Regions from separate parts of the Homo sapiens genome. Here region 1 is linked to region 2. Evidence: promoter capture Hi-C in human tissues and cell types (Jung and others, 2019). All regions are on one chromosome and are shown on one strand. Each heading gives the region's core, a stretch centred on a gene start or on the middle of the fragment in contact. The rest is flanking DNA. Distances are from core to core; before and after follow the strand shown. Region 1 holds the start of PNOC (prepronociceptin). Region 2 holds the start of CLU (clusterin).

Region 1 (7,007 bases), core at 3,939-6,438, 710 kb after region 2:
GCTGGTTTCCCAAAGAGTCCAAAATGGTAGCTGCGACCTGCAGTGTAAGGTTTGGGCAACAGAGATCTAAGTGAAGAATCATGAGTATGCTGGTCTCCTGAGCCCTTTTGCTGTGAACACAGACGGAAGGGAAATTTTATTCTCAGAACCTGTTGCTCTTAACCTGAGCAGATGTTTGCTGTCTTTTTCCTATTTTCTTTTTATGGAGATGTAATTCCCATAACATAAAATGCACCATTTTAAAGCATACAATTTGGTGGGTTTTAGTATTCTTGCTATGTTGTGCAACCATCACCTCAGTCTAAATCCAGAACATTTCCATTACCCCAAAAAGAAACCCTATACCATTTGCAGTCAGGGCAGATGCTTCCCTCAATCCTTCTCCACCCAGTCCTGGGTAGACCAGAGAGCTGGACTTAACCACATGAATGAGTGCTTGAGCTCCTTGGATGACATAGGTTCAAACCCTGGGATTCTGGAATATTTTAGACCCTCTTAGGAAAACCAAGGACAGGGTCATGGTGAAATTCACCTAAGGTAAGGAAACGTGGGGTCCACAAGGATGCTAAACCCTCAAGCCTGTGCCTTCAGCCTGTGAGCTCCTTTCCTGCAGCCCACAACCCCCGGCGGCTGTAGAAGACAAAGAGGCTCTGCAGTAAGGGACAGGGAAGCTTCCAGAGCTTCTGAGCCTCCAGGGCCCTCGGTAGTGATGCCCTAAGTTGCAGAAGCTTTAAAAGCTCTCTGTTGTGACACCAGACACTGATATGGGATTTCTACATCCAGGTGGTACTAATCAGTGTGAAAAGCGGGCTGAGAGGAGAGGGAGGATGCAGCACATTCATTAAGGGCCTCGTGTGTTGTAGATTCAAACAGAATCTCCTTTTTCTACTCACAACCATCCTGGGCAGTATTAGACTCATTTTCCGGAAGGAGGACTTGAGGTTCACAAAGAGATGTGCCTTGCTCTGACTGTACAGCCGAATTTCAGACACTTCCATCTGAGCCTCGAGTCTCAGCATTCTCCATTGCACCATGCTGTGGGCACCTGTGGAAATGCCTCCTGACCTGGCCCAGGGCAGGTGCAGCCACCTCTTGAGTGGCCTAGTTAGGGGCAATGACATTAGGTCAGGGCTTGGCTTAGCTCAGCCCTGGGCTCCTCCGAGTCGGTAGGAGCTTGGCATGAGCTCCCCTCCCTTCTGCCTGCCTCCTATTCTTCACTCCTCAGGCAAAAAGGTTGCTCAAGGAGACTCCAGGATTTGGGGTCTGCCTCGTCACTGTCACCAGGAGGCTTTTTTTCTGACTTGCCAGAGCTCCCCATCAGTCCTCACAGAGCCTCTGGAAGCACAGGGAAGGCAGCTGTGGGATCCTGGCTGAACAGAGTCCAGGTGAAGCAGGCTTGAGAATGGATTGATGGGGAGGTGGGGATGTCACAGGTCTGATGGCAGAGCCGGGGGAAGGGAACAGCCAGGAAGGCTTGCAGGTTCTGCTGTTTGGTTGCTGAAGGGGGTCAGTGTGTGTATGTGTCATGGAGGTGGGCAGGGAAGGGGAGGGCTGTGCGTGGGGGAGAGGATATATATGCTGGTGTGGCTGAGAAAGCGGAACCGAGCCTCGCATCCATCGGAGGGAGCCGGGGACTGACAGCTCTCAGGTAGGCAACTGCACGGGGCCCCCAGCCCGACCGCGACTAACTGGACTAACTGCGTGGAGCTCCGGGAGGGCAGGGCCACCAGGGGCTGGCTCCTCGGCCTCTCTCCTTTGTCCAGTGTGGATGCTGCTGGCCTCTTGCGAGATGGTTTCTTCATTCATCTCCTTTGTAGCGCTTGGATGGTGGGGAACGGGGGAGGGCTGAGTCTCTTTTTTAACCTCAGACAGACGCAGAAGCAGAAAGAGGGGAACTTGGAAATGAGGAAAAGTTTTGCTTCCCCAGCTGTGGCCCCTACGTGGTTGTTGCTCTGTGTCGAGAGGAGGCTGCTGGAGGAGTGAGGCCAGAGGAGGGGCAGGCACTTGGGAGGGGGTTTGCCTTCCACGGGGCGGCCCCCAGGAAGACCCTGGCCCCCTCATGAGGGTTTCCTCTCAGTGGCTTCCTTTCCTCTCAGATGCGGTGCGCAGGCTGCTTCTCCGCCTATCACTGAACTTGATGCCATCCAGATGGGAGTTTTTAATCCGGAGGGAGCCCTTCTCCCTTCTGCCCCCAGCAGAAATTGCTACAAATAATGGGGAAGCGCCAGATCTGGGGAGTGTGCTTCACCTGTATACACACACTGCTGAGCGCCACGGCGTGTGAATTCCAGAGAGCATTTCTACGGGCGTGACCTTGGTCTCCCAGAACCCGATTCATTTAGAGGGCTCTTCTCTTGCTTGGCATCCCTCTCCCCCTGCCCATCTCCCCCACCTAAAGGTCTTTGCCCAGGTCATGCAGAATACTCCGTTCATAGTCACCGCATCCCAACTCTCGAGGCTCTCTCAGCCACCTTCTTTCTTCCTCCTCTCTTTGTGCATCTCTCTCCCTCGAGTCTTGCTTCCCCGGCTTCACTACCCAGCCCCTCCTCCCCGAATCTCGCTCTGAACATGGGCAAGTTCTGGGGGAATTTCAAGTAAGGCAGGATGATTCGGGAAATGGACTATTTAAAGCAAGCTGCTTTGGACTTGAATACCCCCATCCTGCGCTTAAACATCTGTGTTTAGCTTCCTCAAGCAGCCCATAATTGCCCCAATTATAACCAATAACATTGTTCGGCAGACTAACAAAAGATGAGCTTTGCACGGCATTCGCCAGCAAGCCCAAACCAGAGTTTTCAACATAGATGGGAAAAGTAACTGCCTGGCTTCTTATCAAAACCTCCCAAAGCAAATACTGCTCTTTTTCGCTGCTTGTGGGTGGCTACTGCATGCAGCCTCTTTTTTTCTCATTTGTAAAGTGTGGCAGGGAAATATTCTACAAGCTTACACTGAGGCTATGTTACCTTTAACAAAAAGGATTCGTGCTCCTTTGGGCTTGCTGAGTCTTCTGCAGAGGAGGGTCCCTGGAAAACCCATCCCCAACCATCACCACCTCTGTAAAAGCATGTGCCGCCTGGTGCTGCCTGGCGAGGGCGCTGTGGTACAGCCTCGGGTCATTTTGAGGGCGCAGTTTTGTTGCGCACAGGGCAGCAGCCCCTGCTTTATCAGCTGAAGGCTGAGAGTACTTACGGATTTGTAAAATGCAGGCGAGTTTGCATTGTCAGTGAAGGGAGTGATTGCAGGATTAGGCTCAAACCTGTGCTCCCTGGAGCCTATGACAAGAGCTGTCACTAAGCTATCCTGTATTCAATCAATCAGGTAGTTACCGTCTACACTCCACCAGGCAGGGAGGCTTGCAGGGGCTCTAGTAGATTCAGCAGAGGTGATAATAACAGCACTTTACATTTGTACAACGATTTAGGCGCTTTCACACCTATTATCCCAGCAACAGCCCTGTGAGGTGGTGCCATTATCTCGGTGTTGCAGTTGGAGAAACTGAAACTGAGAGATTAAATGATTTATTCAGTACATGGCAGGGTCAGGACTGAGCCAAGGCATTGTGGCTCCAGTTCATCTCCCCGTTACGGTCAGGGGTGCTTATGAACTCATAGTGGGGTCGGGGGTAGAGGAGAGACGTAACACAAACATGAGAAACAATTAGAGGACCATGCAAGGCAGGGTGTAATTCAGTCCTAAATCACATAATCCAGAGAGCAAGTGCTAGAAGAATTCGGGAGAAGGAGCATTTCCTCCAGGCATTCCTGGGATCCTACCAAGTGAGAAGGCAGGTGGAATTTGGATGGGTGAAGGGCTTTGAAGAGGGAGGCAGCAGCCAGGTCAAACACATAAAATGAGGGCAAAGGAATTAACATTTCTTGAAACCCACTCTGTGCCAGGCAGTGAGCTAAGCTTGTCTACGTGCTTATTTCATGCTAATACACACATGCACATATGCACACTGGTAGGAATGGGAAGTTTCAGGTGAGCGTTCTCTACTTGCACTGACACGGTTCAGTGATCCCTCATTTCTCCATCCAGCTCCACAGCTCCCAAAGCCCACGAAGGAAGCTTTGAAATATCTTGCATTCCGAGTCTGGGTGGAGCTACTCCTCAGATATCTTAGGAAAGGGACGGGCCCTTCTCAGAAAACGGGAGCCGTCCTGACAATGAGTGGCTGGCAGTGGCTTGAATTGCTGGGCAGTCATGAAGCAAACTGGATTTTCTAAACGCCTTTATTTAAATCCCACAGTCGAACATAAAGTTTTCCATCTAATCACAAACTAGTCATGAGATTTGGAGCACATCGATTTCAGGGGCAAGCCAGTTTTCTGGGCATCTCCCTGGATAGGCTACAATTAGTTTCAGTCTCAATTTTCCACGATCCTGTGGGGTTTTTTTTGTTTGTTTCTTTCTTTCTTTCTTTCTTTTTTTTTTTTTTTTTTTTTTTTTTTTTCAAAATACTGGCAGCTGCTTCAACATTGCAGAAGCACAAAATCATCAGCCCGGGGGCCCAGCCTGGCAGGTGGAGTAGATAGCATGCCTCACCATGCACCCCAGCTCTGCCATCCCACAGTGGCTCAGATCCAACCTCCCCTCTTTCCACACTGGCCTGCAATCTTCCCCCCACCCTCCTTCCCCATTCATCCTTTCATTCATTCGGCCAAGGAACGTGTGTGGGGTTCCTGATAGGAGCCACACAGAGCAAGTGCCAGGAGCACAGGGTGGCCAGAGCGCTGGCTTCCTCCAAACTCACAATGGGCTTCAGGAGACTGAGACTTTTGTTTTTATCTTACCTTTCTTAATTTGCATTTTAGTGGATTTTATAATGTATGTAACTTATAAATAAATTAGGAATGTGTACTCAAAATCGACTGCTAGGGGTACAAAGTTAAAGAAGTTTGGCCGGGCGCAGTGGCTCATGCCTGTAATCCCAGCACTTTGGGAGGCCGAGGTGGGCAGATCACAAGGTCAGGAGATCAAGACCATCCCGGCTAACACGGTGAAACCCCGTCTCTACTAAAAATACAAAAAAATTCTCTGGGCGTGGCGGTGGGCGCCTGTAGTCCCAGCTACTCGGGAGGCTGAGGCAGGAGAATGGCGTGAACTCGGGAGGTGGAGGTTGCGGTGAGCCGAGATCACACCACTGCACTCCTGCCTGGGTGACAGAGCGAGACTCCATCTCAAAAAAAAAAAAAAAAAAGAAGAAGAAGTTTGAAGATTGTTGTCCTAGATTCATTGCTGTTTCTCTGTGTTTTCCAATATTTTAGAAAAGAACACCGAATGATTTTATTACATAAAAGTAAATAAAAGCTTTTCTTTCTTTCTTTTTGAGTTGGAGGTCTTGCTATATTGCCCAGGCAGGTCTTTTGTTGTTGTTGTTGTTGTTTACAGACAGGGTCTCACTCTGTCACCCACACTGGAGTGCAGTGGCACAATCATAGCTCACTGCAGACTCAACCTCCTGGGCCCAAGCTATCCTCCTGCCTCAACCTTCTGAATAGCTAAGACTGCAGATGTGCACCACCACACCTAGCTAAATTTTTTTTTTTTTTTTTTTTTGTAGAGATAGGTGTCTTACTATGTTCCCCAAGCTGGTCTCAAACTCCTGGGCTCAAGCGTCCTAAGTTGCTGGGATTGCAGTTGCATGCCAATACACCCAGCTAAAAGTAAATAAAAGCTTTCCAAAATCTATTTAAATTATGTTGCCAGTATATGTGGGAGTGTGGCCCAGAACCAGGAAGATGGGAGTTGAGAGCTACCTTCCCACCTGCAGTAGCCCTGAACGTGTGTCTTTTGCCCCCTCCACACTCTTTCTATGGCTTTCCTCATGCTGCCCGGAAGCTACTTCCCCATAAAGCCTTCATCTCCTTTTCCTCTTCCCTTCTTCCTTCCATCCTTACTTCCAGGAAAGGACAAATATCTGGCCATTCATAAAATCAGAGAATATCAACCATCTCATCTAACTGCCTCTTCTTATAGAGGGAAAAGCTGAGGCCCAGAGAGAAAAGGTCTTGCTTAAAATCCCACAGGTAACGACAGAGCCAGACTAGAAGCCAGGACTCTTGTTTCTGAGCACAGCTCTCACGCGTTCATTTCTCTCCAGCCTGGGGAATGCTTGACCTGTGCTGGGCTGGGCAATTGTTCTTTCCTCCACCTCCTCTATGCCGTCCCCCTCTTTCCAGGTGGAAATTTAGATGAGAGGAGAGACACTTGAAGTGTAATTGTATCAGCCAGAAGAGGAAAAGAAACTAAAGCAGCCTCTCTCCATAATAGCTGGTAAACAAGCATAAGCTCCATTGTAGGAGTCTTATCTGCAATGGGTCTAAGAAATGGGGCATCGGGAAGACCCACCTATCTTCTGATGGACATGCAGCTGGTGCATAATGAAGGATCCCTGTGTGGACTGGAGAGAAGCCACCATAAAGAGGTTGTCATCAGCCCCGGCACAGTGGCTCATGCCTGTAATCCCAGCACCTTAGGGAGGCTGAGGCGGGAGGATCATTCGAGGTCAGGAGTTTGAGACCAGACTGACCAACGTGGTGAAACCCCGTCTCTACTAAAAATACAAAAAAAATTAGCCAGGCATGGTGGCGGGCACCTGTAATCCCAGCTACTCAGGAGGCTGAGGCGGGAGAATCATTTGAACCCAGGAGGCAGAGTTTGCAGTAAGCCAAGATAGCGCCACTGAACTCCAGCCTGGGCAACAGAGCGAGACTCCATCTCCAAAAAATAAAAAATAAGAAGTAAATAAAAAAGGTTGTCATCAGACAGGGAGTACAGACTTCAGGACAAGAGGAAGCCCTACATGAAGACAGCTGCTGGGATCACTGACAGGCAGGGTCAGACATAAGTCCCAGCTCTGCCACTTCAAGTTACATCAGCTCCTCAAGCCTCAATCTGCTCAACTATAAAATGGGGATGATAGCACTTACCCCATAGGGTGATGCTTATAAAGCAATTAGCGCAAAGCCTGGCTCATAGTGCTCTAAAGTCATAGCAATATGATT
Region 2 (6,357 bases), core at 3,710-6,209:
TGTTCATCAGGTAGGAGGAGTATGTTCTGGAGGTCTAACATACAGGTGGTGCTTATAGTTAATAACACCATATCATAACTGGAAATTTGCTAAGAAAGTAGATTTTAAGTCTTCCCACCGTCCCACCATAAAAAGTGGTCATCATTTCAATGTATGTGCATTTCAAAACATCACGTCATATACCTTAAATATACACAATTTTTATTTGTTAATTATATCTCAATAAAATGGGGGGTGGGGGGAGTGTCATGAGATCAAGATAGTGGCCCAAAGTCACCCAGCTGAGAAGAGGTGAAACAGACTCACACCCATGTCTGATCTGGGTTTTTAACAATGATCCTGCAGAAACCGTCAGCTCACAGGAGGGATAAGCTCTGGGCACTCCAAAGGGGAGAGGGATAAGAGCTCCGGTGGTCCAGACACAGCTTCGTGGAGGAGGCCTGGGAGCTGGGCTAAGGGGCCTGGGAGGGGAAGAGCTGAATGAAATGCAACAGCCGAAAGTGCTTGGGAAATGCCTGCAAATGCCGGCAGTCTGATGCACGCAGAGCCTGAACCAGGGGCCTCGGAGCTGAGGCTCAGAGTGGGCCCAGACACAGGCACCCAGACCCAGTGCACAAGATAAAAACGGTCTGTAACACTGGGGCCTGATAGAGAGGCACTGAGCAGAATTAGCTACCCTGCCCTCTGACCTCATCACCCTGTGGCCAGAGGAACATCATGCTTGGTCTACTCACCCTGGAGCTCATTGTCTGAGACCGTCTGGTCCCCCAGGACCTGCCCACTCTCCCAGGTCAGCAGCAGCCCCACAAACAGCAGCAGAGTCTTCATCATGCCTCCAATTCTGGAGTCTTTGCACGCCTCTGCAGAGAACAGGAGACCATCATGGGAACAGCTAGACAGCCTGCTGGCGTCCCGCCCACCTGCTGCCTGCAGCAGCTCCCCAGGGCCTCACTGCCCTCAGCTGTCCCCACAGCAGGCACTGCTGCACTTTTATTCCTGAGGAAATGGGGGGAAATGACCAGACTTGCCATGGACACCTCGAATGAAAGCGAAGGCAGGAGGTGCAGGGAGGGAGGGACTGCAGGACAGCAATGTTGAGTGGAAGAAACAAGAACCCTGGCATCGGAGGAACCAGGCTCTTGTCCAAGCCACATCCTCCCCGACAATCAGCGAGGCACACAGGCTTTCTGCATCCTGGCCTCCTTGTCCAGAGTGGTATCGATCATGTCAGACACTGAAAATACCCCCCTTAGGTCATGCATCCGTCCCTCCCCATGCCACCTCCACAGAGGGACTGCATCCCAGAGACCAGCCACGTCCTCTGCAATGTGCACCTAAACCTTCACCCCAGCAGACGCTCCCCATTCACCACAGCGCTGCAGCCCCCAGGGAGTCTCAGCACCACCTGAACTTGACTTTCAAGAGCCGGAGGCAACAGCAGCCAGCCCTTCACACCGAATCCATCTGCATCCCTAGTGGGAGACTTGGGCCGGGCTGCCTGTGCATTCAGGGGTGGAAGTAGTGGAAGCCAGGAAGGACAATTCCCTTCGGAGAGTAGAGAGGGTTCGCAGTGGCCCGAGGAGCAGGCTTCCCAGAGAAAGTCCCTTTGGAAGGATGAGTCCTCTTGCTCTGCCAGGCCCTCCACACTGCCCATCCCCTCTAAGCCGACAGCAGGCTGCCCTGCCAGTGTTCCTGCCACCACTGGGCTGGCTGCCCTGAGCCACGGGGCACAGGCCATAGCCCCGGTCTTACACAATGGACCCTTTCCCAGAAGCTGAGGCTGTTGCATAAAACAGAAACCCCTCCCCCTGCACTCCACCCCCACCATGCCCCTCCCAAGAACTGCTTATCTGAGCTCACCCATTTGCCATCACAGAACCAACAGGACGATGGGGTTCCCCTTCCTGAAATGGTTCACATCCAAAGCCCGCTCAGCCCAGCAGGCCCATCTGGACACTCAGTAGCACATTAACAAGGAGTGCCTCTCATGAGAAGTAATCAGGCGCAAAGAGCCAGGGAGCAGCGTGGGAGAAGAGATGGGGTCAGCGCCTTCCCCAGAGATGGGGTAGGGGGCGGAGACCGGGCTCACCAGGAAGGCTGTGGTCTCACGGGCTCTGCCCCAGCTGCCCACTGAGCCCTGAAATGCCTCCAGCAGGAACAGAGCCTTTGTCATGCCAGAGAGACAAAGCCAGCCAGAAACACCTCTCTGCCAGGGGCCCCTGAAAGCAACAACTTCTGGAAAAACCCATTCAGAACTAGGTTCTGACCAGAAGACAGGGTGCTGGGCCATGAAGAATGGGGCAGCCAAAGGCAAGATACAGGAAAGGAATTCCAGACTCAGCAGCGGGCACAGAGTCTGCTCCAGGGAGCCTGGGGTCCCTGGTGAACCATCCAGCTCAGACCTGGGAAGGAGGTCGTTCTCTCACCCAACCTCTCTACCCTAGCGGTGAGGCTGAAGCCCAGAGAGGGCATGGGACTCCCTAGAGTCCACAGCATGCTCATGGTAACCCTGGGATGAGAGCCCAGCCCTCCCGACCCCTAGTCCAGTATTCTTTCCTTGATTCCAAGTCACTTAAATATCTGAGCCTCAGTTTCTTCATCTGTAAAATGGATCTAATCCAGACCTCAGAGAGGGGAATGTGTTCTGTAAACACGAGGGTCTTATGTAATCATAGTAAATTCTGACTACTTCCAAATTAGACTGAGGTCTGAGGCTGGGCATTGGCAGTGTCTAATCAACATGTCTGGAGAGGGGCAGGAAAACCGAGACAAGCACACAGAGGCCACCTGTGGTCCCCCGGACTGTGTGGCTCTGCTTTGCTGAAATGATTGACCACTTTTTAAAGTACTTATGAATCACTGCAGGGCTGGTTATAATGTTGGTTCTGAGACTGCTTTTCCAGCCAGTCTGCAGGTGATATGGATGCTGCTGATCCAAGGAATGTTCTAGAACCGTGACTGCACAGCCGACCTCCTTTCCTTTGCTCGGACTCACCTCCCCCCTCATCTCCTCTGCCTCCTGGGAGCCTGGCTGCCAGCTGCCCTGGGTGGAAGAGCCATGCCAAGGCCAAGGCCCTCGAGTCCCCAGCACTACCACACAGCCTCATTCTCCCTAAGAAGGCTTAAACCACTTGGCCTTGCTCCTTCTACCAGAAAAGGCCGGTTCTGTGGACAAAGGGGCTGCTCAGGGGAAGAGGAGGAGGAGAAGATGGCGGGGGGTGGGGGGCAGGGGGGGCGGGGGGAGCAGGCAGACTTTGGGAGCAACTCCCCTCCAGGCACACCCTCCTGGGAACTTTGAACTGAGCAGCTTCCCAAAACGTTTCCAAGCAGGGCAGGGCTGGAGGCTTAAGAAAATCAATGACCTGGCAGGGCGCATTGATTCACACCTGTCACCCCAGCACTTTGGGAGGCCAAGACAGGCGGATTACTTGAGATCAGGAGTTCGAGACCAGCCTGGCCAAGGTGGTGAAACCATGTCTCTACTAAAAATACAAAAATTAGCCGGATGTAGCAGCATGCGCCTGTAGTCCCAGCTACTCAGAGGCTGAGGCATGAGAACTGCTTGAACCCGGATGGCGGAGGTTGCAGTGAGCCGAGATGGCGCTACTCTACTCCAGCCTGGGCAACAGAGTGAGACTTGGTCTCAGGAAAAAAAAAAAAAAAGAGAGAAAAGAAAGAAAGAAAATCAATGACTGTGAACAGGGAGCCGTGGGGAGGATGGGAAGACAGTGAAGAGGGCACACAGATGGTGAGGGTTTCAATCCCAAAGCCCCGGCTCCTATCTGCTTCTTCAAATGGAGAAAACTAAACCAAAAGGAAAATAAGAAAAATAATCACCGGTAATTCATATCACCCAGAGGCAAAGGTTAGCACTGTGGTATATTTCCTTCTGTCTTCCATGCAGTTTATACAAGATTCTTCACATTCACCATCTTCAAATATTCTTTAAGGGCATACTTTTATGGCTATGTAATACTCCACTTACTCACGGACCTAAGTTTATTTTACCATTCTCACAAGATTGGCCATTTCAGTTGTGCCCAATGCTCCACTATTATTATAACTTAACATTTTCATGGGCATCTTTTTTTATATAGTATCTGTACTTTCCTTTAAATTCCTAACCTCTCCGTTTAAAAAATAATAATAAAAATCATATTTTTTTTAACTAGGTCCAGAAATTCTGGAAGGTCAAGAGGCTTTGGCTCGAATCCCAATTCTGATACTTATTTGCTGTTTAGTGTTGGCACCAGTCCTAAACCTCTCCAGGCCTCAGATTATCATCTGTAAAATGAGACTGTGGAATCAGAGGTCTGAGGCCTGGTGGATCTTGTGTGACTTTTCTCTGATGCACCTCAGATGCATTAGGAGGCAGAAAAAGTCGGATTTCGGTGGTTGCAGCATATACTGAAATCCGCAGCCTCATACTTACAGGCAACAGTGTCCAGAGAGCTAGAGAATTTAGAAGAAAACTAGATGACTCATGCATGCAAGCCGAAAGCCACAACTGAGAGATCCGCATCTTCGCAGAGGATATGCTGCAGGAAGGAGCTCGGTGCAGGCCAGCTCTGTCACCTGCTAGCCTGGGTCTCCCGCAACGCGGCAGGTCTCCAGGTCTCAGTTTCCCCATCTTTGCGAAAGGATGATCATTATATCTGTTCTATTTACCCCCCCACCACAGAATTGTGGTTGGAGCTCGTGCTCTCAGGCGGCGGTTGCGCCGGGGCCCCTGGCTCAGCTGCCTGGTGATGGGGCTCCGGCCACCTCCCCTCCCTGGCTTCCTGGGCTCCGTCGAAAGCGCAGGGGTTGTGACTGCGAGCTGTGTCATCCCTCTCTGCCTGGCTGCCATCCCCTGCCCGCCCATCCGTCCTGGTGTGGCTCTGCTCAAGGGTAGGGAAGACGGGGACATCTCACCGGTCAGCGGCACCCTGTGCCCGCGCGCTCCTCCTGGCGACGCCGCGTTGTGGGCACTGGGAGGCGCCGTATTTATAGCGCTCTGCTCGCGCACACACCCCCTTTGGGGCTGGCTGCAAACCTGCATGACTCACGCCCAAAGAATGCCGCGGAAAGCAAGGGGAGCTTTCTGGAAGCCGGGAGGTGGGGGCCGGTGCAGCACCGGGCTGGGGGCGCCGGGGGGCGCATCATCACCACGAATAGCTGTGCTGGCTCCAGGAGAGACCCTGAGGTGCGGCCGCTCGGCGCTTCCAGTAGGGAAGAGCCTGAACTCGCGTGCCCATCTGGGAGCCCCTCTCACGCGGTTAGCCCGGCTGTCTGTCCCAGTCCAAGACACAATCTCACAGTTCCCTGGCCCTACTGACCTTAACCTTCACATTACACAAGCGCCACTTCTCTTGACCCATTTAAATAGTAAAGAGTCAGACATAATGAGGGTGGGATGGAGAGGGGCCTTGTGCTGGAGAAGAGAGCACAGGAAGTATTGAAACGCCTACTCCTGGAAACATCACACTGATGGGGGTCCCTGGACTGACCCGCCAGGCCTGGAGGAAACAGAATTGTGTTTAGGAGTGATCAGAGCAGATATGTGGAGAGCCAGAAGGCCTCTCCGGGGTCCTTGATCCACAGAGCTTAAGCAATCACTGTCCCCATCTTTTTGGAACCCAACCAAGCAGGGTGGGCTTCATGGCTGTGGGACCCTTGCAGATCCACGTTTGGTTTAATGGGCTACTGTGACGGTCTTGAAATTCTTCATAGTTTTTGAACCAGTGGACCTGAATTTTTATTTTGCCCTGAGCCTTCCCAGTTAGGAAATCAGATCTGTGTCCAGAGGGGTTTGCTGGTCTCCAACTGCTGGAGTTCCTTCTGCTGAGAGCAGGGAGAATCTCCTGTCGCAGCCACCCCTCCCCCTGGCAAGGAGGGGCAAATCTAGGAACCCTGGAGGTGCAGCTACTTCTTGGGGAAGAAAGTGAGCTGCCCATTTTGGAGCCAGGGATGTTTAAGCCCCAGGAGAGAAGTCAAGGGGCTGACAGCTGGGGCAATGGGTGGACAGGGCGGGTACAGGCAGCCCCACTGTGGGTGGCAGACTTTGAAAACCATGTGAAACAAAGGGGCTTAAAGGAGAGCTGCGTGGTCAGGGGCTGAGTTTTCCAGTTCAGGATCAGGACTATGGAGGCACAACATGGAGGCCCAGTCCCTTGCTTGCCCAACGTCCAGGGGCCACTAGGACCCCAGTCCTTTTCAGGAGGCAGCCTCGGGGAATCTTCAAGGCCCATGACTAAGTGGGAGAACCCAGACCAGGTCCATGAAAGTCTGATTACAGTCCTAGGTGTGCCCCTAGACACTGGGTGACCTCGGACTAATCACTTTGCCCTTGGGCCTCAGTTTCTTCCATCTGGACGA

The links. Contacts are between HindIII fragments. The study calls those that stand out against the background at their distance.
Region 1: a contact is called between a fragment that was not itself captured here and the fragment with the promoter of CLU in region 2, in 1 of the 25 tissues and cell types used here (hippocampus).

Annotation. Positions count from the first base shown.
Region 1 is chr8:28,315,669-28,322,675 of GRCh38, forward strand. It overlaps PNOC (prepronociceptin), which reads left to right and starts at 1,600. Exons shown (of 4, transcript NM_006228.5): 1 at 1,600-1,648. RefSeq lists enhancers at 2,593-3,105, 3,106-3,617. The HindIII fragment of the contact is 3,527 bases long and covers 3,426-6,952 here.
Region 2 is chr8:27,609,741-27,616,097 of GRCh38, forward strand. It overlaps CLU (clusterin), which reads right to left and starts at 4,960. Exons shown (of 9, transcript NM_001831.4): 1 at 4,915-4,960; 2 at 735-860. The coding sequence starts at 831. MIR6843 (microRNA 6843) reads right to left here and starts at 1,011; the gene lies at 861-1,011. RefSeq lists enhancers at 702-1,409, 4,592-5,091, 6,048-6,357 and silencers at 3,373-3,558, 5,114-5,203. The HindIII fragment of the contact is 13,101 bases long and covers 1-6,357 here.